Regions from separate parts of the Homo sapiens genome. Here region 1 is linked to region 2. The links are contacts of gene promoters, found by promoter capture Hi-C in human tissues and cell types (Jung and others, 2019). All regions are on one chromosome and are shown on one strand. The core of a region is centred on a gene start or on the middle of the fragment in contact, and the rest is flanking DNA. Distances in the headings are between cores, read along the strand shown. Region 1 overlaps SHOC1 (shortage in chiasmata 1). Region 2 holds the start of SNX30 (sorting nexin family member 30).

Region 1 (3,901 bases), core at 668-3,167, 1.0 Mb after region 2:
ACCCCATCATTATTGCACAGAATAGTCTGAAATTGTAGAATTGATACTGCAGGGCTAGGTCATTATATTCTAGTTTGAGCCAAAACTGCATAGCTTAATAGCCCAGCATCCTTGCCCTTTGATAGAGTCTGAGATAGCTTTCATTGCTGTCTTAAACCATGCAGCACACATGTAGCTTAATGTTTTCTAAGATTGATTAGTCTGCTATCCTGGAATAAAGCCATTCCATTCCTCTGCTTCTTACGCCAGTTAAAAAATTGGGAACATAACCAGTACAATTAGTCTACTGTAAACCTAGAACTTAATGTGTCCTAAAATAACATATTTTCAGGAAGATGACAGTAAAGTCTACAAGTCTCTAATGAATTATTCCAGGACTGGAAACTGTGGGAACTGTGTGTGTTAGGTTTGAATTCTTGTTATAATTAGCTGATCTGCCAGAGGAGAGTGCTATTTGGATTACTGGGACCAGCTGGAGTCAAGGCTGTATAATTCATCACTGGCTGCTTAGGCTTCTATTAATGGTCTCAGGAAAGTGTCAAAGCATAAGACTGAGGGCCCTAAATATATCTTTATCTTCTGGCTAAGAATTATTTACATTTCTAGAGTAAATTTGTGCTATACAGAGTTCTATCATGAACTAAGAATTGTCCATATCAGATATGAGCCCTAAAAAGAGCATAGGACAAGTATGGAAACTACATACACTTTGTTTAAATACTTTTAGTTCTCTTGATAAGGTACAAGATATTTATTTGCAGGACATATACTGTTTTTGTTAGTGCCCTTTTACTCTTTTATTTAGTCCATACACCCTAATCCATCTGTTATGACAGACTGGCATTTTTAGAAACAGAAACTAGCAGAAATTAGTATGATCTTTAATTTCAGTTTGATTTTAGAAGTATTTAAACCATAATAAGCTCTTTTTAATCACAAGTTATATGTCTATTGTTATAACTCAAATATCTAATAAGAATTTATGAAACAAATCTTAACTAATGACTTACGATTTGGCAAAGTTAGAAAAAAAAGGCTTTCAAATTAGCTAATGGTTTTAGAGCCATTTGAAACAACTGAAAGAAGTTTTCCCCTCACTACTACATTTACCAGCAAGAGATAAATCACTTCCATTTGTTTGGCAACTGTAAAAGCTTAAAAATCCATATTTTAAAAATGAGTTTACAGTAGTCCCCCTTTATGCCGGGAGAATAAATTCCAAGACCTTAAATGGATGCCTGAAACTGCGAATGTTATTGAACCCTATATATACTGTTTTTTCTCATATATTCATACCTATGATAAAGTTTAATTTATAAATTAGCCATAGTAAGACATTAACAGCAATAACTATAGTAAAATAGTAAAATAGAACGACCATAACAAATACCATCCTCATTACTCTTGTGCTTTGGAGTCATTATTAAATACAGAAGGGGTTACTTGAACACAAGCACTGTGATTCTGCAACAGCTGATCTGATAACTGAGAATGCTACTAAGTGACTAATGGGCAGGTAGTGAGTACATATAGTGTGGATATGCTGGGCAAAGGGATGATTCACATCCTGGGCGAGATGGTGTAGGATGGCATGAAATTTCATCACACTGCTCGCAACAGTGCAATTTAAAACTTATGAATTGTTTATGGAATATTCTGTTTAATAGTTTGGACTGCAGTTGAACACAGATAAATGAAACCGAGTATAGTGAACTCATGGATAAGGGGGAACTACTGTATATCTCAACTGTAAAACTAAAAACAAGGAGAAAAGGTGTTAAAATTTTTTTGAAAAAAAGAAGGAAAAATAACAAAGAATGTTATTGTAGCTTTAACTTATTTTTATGGTCCCAATTATTTTTATTTCAGAGCACAACATTTTGGCTGAAAATAATACCCAGTTAACAATATTTTTAGTGCCTACCACATATAAGATTCTATGCTAGATTTTATGGGCTAAAAAAGAAAAGTCTGTATGGCATAAGATTTTATTAAGCTACTAACTGACTGCTGACTTGTGAATATATTTTTATGAACAATGTATCAGATTCAGACATGCCTTCAGAAAGCTCCGTTAAGAGTGAAAATGTGTGTCTATATTGGACATGGCCTGCTAAATATAACACGTTCCTTTCACTTTAAAATAGTTGCTTACAATCTGAGGTGTTGTCAAAGAAACCTTGGTAAGATTCAGGAATTGTCTAGATTCTCAAATTTTCTATCACATGACCAGATTTTTGGATTATGTGGGTAAACTGGATGCCTTAGACATAAAACCTAGCTTTCCACTGCCCTAGACTGTCAATTTAACTGGCAATACTTATAATTAGCATGCTCATATATGTTCCATATGAACAGAGAAACAGAATACAATCAGTTCTCACTCAGGGTAGCAGGGAGCTTGGGACACAGATTAAGGGGTTTATGAATTAATAGTCTTTCCCCTACGAAGGCTAGTAGCATCATAGCTACAGATGAGCTGTAATTTACACTGATTGACATGCTTATTTTCTCCCTTCTCCCCCCGAGTACCCCTAAACACACATACACAGACACACATCACTCACTCACAAACCCACCAAGATTGAAGGTCTTGAACTAAACTTTAGGACTCTGCCATCTCCAGAGAAGGACTTTTTCACAGTTCTGATCCTCAGCCAGTAGAGGATCCAGAATTTCTATATGGAATGGACTTGGGGACAGCAATTTTATAAAAATTTTTGTTGAGGTTGCTATGTGCATGGTAAGCATGGTAATTTTACTTAGATTGTATTTTTATTTTTGGTGGCGTATAAGGTTGACGCTAGCATAGTTTATGGAGGGAAGTGCTAAAACTCTCCCAAGTCAGCCCTCTCTGGCTCCAGGTTCCATTGAGGGAGGTAGAGGTGGGAGTAATTTACAGTCAAGTAGGAACAATTGAGTTTACAAATTACCAAACTTTCCCAAGGATGGAGGAAGTGAGTACTGTGTTTGATATTTGGTCTGTAGAACTCGACTGCAGTTTACACATTTATAAAGTCAATTTTTCACTTGATTTTGAGTGTAAAAGTACTTTAAAAATACTTTTTAAAAATAAAATTTTGGGCCAGGCGCGGTGGCTCACACCTGTAATCCCAGCACTTTGGGAGGCCAAGGTGGGCGGATTACTTGAGGTCAGGAGCTGGAGACCAGCCTGGCCCACATGGTGAAACCCCGCCTCTACTAAAAATACAAAAATTAGTCAGGCATGGTGGCAGACGCCTGTAATCCCAGCTGCTCGGGAGCCTGAGACAGGAAAATCGCTTGAATCTGGGGCGGAGGTTGCAGTGAGCCAAGATAGTGCCACTGTACCCCAGCCTGGGCGACAGAGCGAGACTCTGCCTCAAAAAAATAAAATAAAATAAAATTTTATTATACAAAAGACTCAATATTATTAATGTATTAAACTTTAACTCTTTTTTTCAGTAATTTGCTTACTGCTGAAGAATCAGCTAATGAATACTACATGATGTGGCAATTAGAAAGATGTAGAAGCCCTTTGAACCCATTTTTGCTTACAGGTAAAGATTAATTGCCTTTAAGTGATAAATAGAAAGTATAGGTAAAAAGGTACAACGAGTAGAAATGTGGGATATCCTTTTTCTTTGACCATTTCTTAACAGAATATATAACTTCGCCTAAAGCTAAAATACCAAGATATCTTCCATAAGGTTCATTATGCTAGGTGCAGAAGTATATGACAAGATCCGGATCTTGCTGATTTTCTGGGTAATTCCTATACATGGGAGAAGGAAAAGAAAAGAAATGAAATACAAGTAGTACATAAAACTGTCCCATACAAGTAATTTGTATTTCCAAAGTTGTGAGTTGTTTGTAAAAAAAAATAAAAATAAAAAAAAATCTCATCTAATGTTAAAAGTTT
Region 2 (4,172 bases), core at 1,265-3,764:
TGGTGGTACGGGGAATTTGTCTTCCAAGTGCTTATTAGTAAAATGCTCATACTTCTGAGTCAGGTATCATCCATGAGTGAATCGTTAGGTAAATATTTTAAATGGCTATCTGTAGTAGCCAGTCTCCAAGATGGCCCAATGATCCCCACCTCTTGGTATACACACCCTGATATTCACACCCTCTCCCCACATTGTACCAGTGTCAATCTGTGTGACCAACAGAATACAGCAGAGGCATGTCATTTCCAAGATAAGTTATACAAGACTGGCTAGAGTCTTGAGCTCTCTTGGATCACTTGCTCTGGGGGGAAAAACCAGTTGCCACATCAAACAGCCCTATGGAGAGTAACTAAGACCTGCCAACAGCCATGTGAGTGAGCTTAGAAGTGGATCCTCCCCTAATCCAGCCTTCAGATGACTGCAGCCCAAGCCAACAACTTGACTGCAACCTCAAGAAAGGCCTAATTCAGAACCACTCAGATTGTCCCACAGACACTATTTCCAGGTGATAAGTTTTGGGGTAATTTGCTACACAGCAATAGATAATTAATTCAGTGTCCCACACAGAACTGAGAAGGAAATGAGGTTTAACCCCCAGTTCCTACACTATTTTAAGACCAATTTTTGTCGATAAGAAAGCAAATTTATTCAGTTATTCAACATTTTTTGGAGACAGGGTCTCACTCTCTTGCCCAGGCTGGAGTACAGCGGTGCAATCATAGCTCACTGCAGCCTTGAACTCCCAGGCTCAAGCAATCCTCCCGCCTCAGCCTCCTGAGTAGCCTGGATTACAGGTGCATGCCACCATGCTGTGTGCGTATGTGGAAACGGGGTCTCGATATGTTGCCCAGGCTGGTCTCAAACTTTTGGTTCAGAGCAATCATCCCACTTCAGCCTCCCAAAGTGCTGGTATTACAGGTGTGAGCCACTGCACCTGGCCTCCATTAGCTTTTTTAATTTTCCTGTTCCTAATGCTTTGGAACTTCACTCCCTGCTTTCACAAACCCTCTGCAGAAGGTACATCAAGTCGCACTCTCTAGTGATTTTAAGTGCTCAGTGACCTTCTGACTGCAAGGAGGGCAGGTTATATTTTCTCATACTCCTTTTTCACTGTACCACATGGTGTCCCCTCTAACGGGAGAAGAAAGTTAGGTCCCCTGCTCCCATTAATATTGGGACAAGGGGGAATTCATTTAGTATTTTACTAGGGAGAGAAAATCTTGATCACAAGACCTGAGAACAATTCTAATTTCTGCAGTTAGTGACTAAGTGACGGCAGGAGCGGGGATACAATCACTGCTCAAGTCTCCTTCACAGCTGAAATGGCCATGGGGGTAGGGAGGAGGTCGTCCCTTACCCCTGCCTGGACTCTGCTGTCTCTCCAAGCAGCAGGAGGGTTGTGCTGCTCTAAGAAAATCTGGAGCCTCCCTCCGTACAAAGAAGGTCAAAGGGCGAGCTTTCTTTCCATCAACCACAAAACCAGCCTCTGCCAAACCTAAACAGAGTGGTAGGCCGTCGGAGGTGAATGGAGCCCCAGACAGAAAACCACAACGAGGCTCTCCTCCCGCCGCCGGCTGGGGTCTGAGTCAGGTGACTCCTCAGGACAAACAGCAAACCTAAACAAAGATCACTCCCCACATGACTGACTAGGGGGAAGAAGACTCTCGCTGTAAGCCCAGGGCTGCCCGGTCCCAGCACGGAAAGCCAGGAACTCCTGCTTTCTGTGCAGTCTCGGAAACTGGAGGAGCTACAAGTTATGCAGCAGCTCAGCCTGCAGGGATGCACCTGGAGGAACTCGGAACCCCATCCGAGGACACAGGCGCCCTGCCCTGAACACACGCCTCCCGCTCCAACACGCAGGCTGGACCCCTCCCCACCAGCTGTCACCGGTGCTTGCGACCAGTCACAGGCAGCGAAGCCTGTCCCTCTGCGGCTGCGACCCCGCGGAGGCGGCAGAGGAGACGCTTCGCCGAGGGCTCCGGGGCCAGGACACGCCCGTCCCCCGGGAAGGGGCGGCAGGGTGGGCGCGGCCCCAGGCCCACGAAGGCTCCGGATCCATCATCCCCCCCACGGGGAGCGAAATAAGCCTCCCACTCCCCGGCCCCAGGCGCCCCACCTTGTCACCGAAGCTGCGGGCCATCAGCAGGTCCGGGCTGGGCGTGCTGTCACCACCCACGGCCTCCTCGCTGCTGGAGCCGGCCAGCGGGTGCGGCATGTCGCGCAGGGAGTGGGGCCCCGTGGACGGCAGGGCCTTGGGGGGCCCGCCCGCCATGGCGCGCACCGCTCGGGACGCGCCGCCGCCGCTTCCTCCTGCTGCCCGCCGCGGCGAGCTCCCCGAGCACCCCGGGCCGAGCCCCGCTCGGCCGCCGCTTAACCCGAGGCCTTGCACCGGCCGTGCTGGGGGCCGCCGCCACCCGCCGGCTGGTCTCTGCCGGCGCTCAGACGCTCCGCTCCGCGCCGCGCGCCCCCGCTCCGCGCCCGAGCCCGCCGCGGGTCCGCTGGCAGCACGGCCGCGGCGCCCAGCCCACACAGCCACACCGCCCACCCGCTCCGGCCCCGCCCCCGAGGCGCCGCGGCCGCCCGGGAGGGGGCGGGGAGGGCGGGGAAGGGGCACGTGGGGAAGGAAGGACGGAGGGAGGGAGGGAGGAGGCGCGGCCCCGCCCCCGCCCGGCAGGAAGTGCGCCCTGGGCCTCTGCGGCTGTCCTCCCAGTGTCCAACGTTGCCTCGCGGAGGCCGCCGTGCGGAGCAAATGTCTAACGGAAATCAGAGGTGGAAAAGAGGTTGGAGGAGCCTGTTCCGTTCCACCCGCGTTTACTGATGCGCCCACCAGCAGCCACGCTTGGGGCTGGGGGCTTTGAGGACACGCACGTGAGTCAGGGTCTTCTGGCCTCTAAGGCACGCGCAGGAAGAACCCTAGATAGACGGAATTACGACCCATATCGGAAGAATAGCATAAAGGGCGACAAGGCTCAAATGAGCTAGAGGACATCGGGTGGGGAACCTGGAAGGGACTTCAAAGAGGCGGTGTGGGGAGTCTTCAGGCTCACTCTGAGGTCCCCATTGTGGCTTGCTTCTGCAGCTGAGCTGGATTTGTGTAAAGTCAAACCTCAGAACAGCGAGCATGAGTAGAGAGTCTCAAATGATATGCGACTCTTCAACTCACACTTTGGCCGAAGAGACTTTTGAAAGAACCATGAGGTTCAAGTTATTCTTCATGCATTTGTGCTTCCTTTCCAGGCCTTGGGCTGAGCTGATTCTCAGCTTTATTTGCTGGCGTGGTGCAAATAGTCAAGGTGTTACTTCCAGCCCTTTGGGGTGTAGGTTCACCTCCTTTTTCCACCTTACCTGTCCCTAGATCTTCTGTTTCCAAGGCCAAGTCTTTAAAGGGTTTTCAGTCCCTCTAGCAAAGTAATGGGTAGGGAGGCTCATCGTGAGGGACCACATTTTCCCTACCCATTCCAAACTCAAAGGTTTGCCTAGCCTTACCTGCTAAAAGGTGATGACAGATGTTGACTCTGGGATTCACTAAGGCCTCTACCACAGTTTTCTCTAGAAACAAATAGAAGAGAATGCAGAGGGTTGAAATCTACCCAAAATATCAGTCAGAGACTCTGAGCTTCAAAGACCTTCCCCTATTTCCCCCAATGTAATTTATATAGGGTTGGACCCTTAGTCCTCAAGCTATCATCTTTATCTCCTCCACATAAGCCTGCCTTGGCTGGGAAAAGTAGCATTCAAAGGGCACTGGGAACAATTTTAAATGCTGCATCTAAGGAATGCCAAGTTCTGGTCCTCTTGGAGTTGGATTAAAATTGTTAACACTTTCACATTCAAGGGCTGCTTACAACTACTACAGACCCTATTATCTGTTCTTCTGAATTAGCATGAAAATGAATAGCACAATATAACTAGAAATGAGTATTTCTAGAAATGAGTATATACATCTATAGATGTATAACATCGGTTTTTCTTATTGAATGGTGCTACTTATTTTAACAACCAGGCTGCCTTAAATATAATGGACATCCGTATGGATTAAGACTCTATACAAGCTTTCTCTTTAGTACACCAGGGGAAAGTGAAAAAAGAACCACATTTGAATTCGGCTTTGTCACTACAAGTGGGTGACCATGAGCAAGTTACTAACCTCAGTGAACCTGTTCCTAACCTAA

The links. Contacts are between HindIII fragments. The study calls those that stand out against the background at their distance.
Region 1: a fragment that was not itself captured here is called in contact with the fragment with the promoter of SNX30 in region 2 in 2 of the 25 tissues and cell types used here (hippocampus and stomach).

The regions. Positions count from the first base shown.
Region 1 is chr9:111,741,114-111,745,014 of GRCh38, reverse strand. It overlaps SHOC1 (shortage in chiasmata 1), which reads left to right. Exons shown (of 28, transcript NM_001378211.1): 11 at 3,445-3,539. Among named protein-coding and RNA genes, the nearest start is that of SHOC1, 52 kb to the left of the region's middle. The HindIII fragment of the contact is 7,015 bases long and covers 1-3,901 here.
Region 2 is chr9:112,749,102-112,753,273 of GRCh38, reverse strand. It overlaps SNX30 (sorting nexin family member 30), which reads right to left and starts at 2,514. Exons shown (of 9, transcript NM_001012994.2): 1 at 2,117-2,514. The coding sequence starts at 2,272. It overlaps SNX30-DT (SNX30 divergent transcript), which reads left to right and starts at 2,709. Exons shown (of 1, transcript NR_186503.1): 1 at 2,709-4,172. RefSeq lists enhancers at 826-1,745, 1,746-2,667 and a silencer at 1,937-2,756. The HindIII fragment of the contact is 10,773 bases long and covers 1-4,172 here.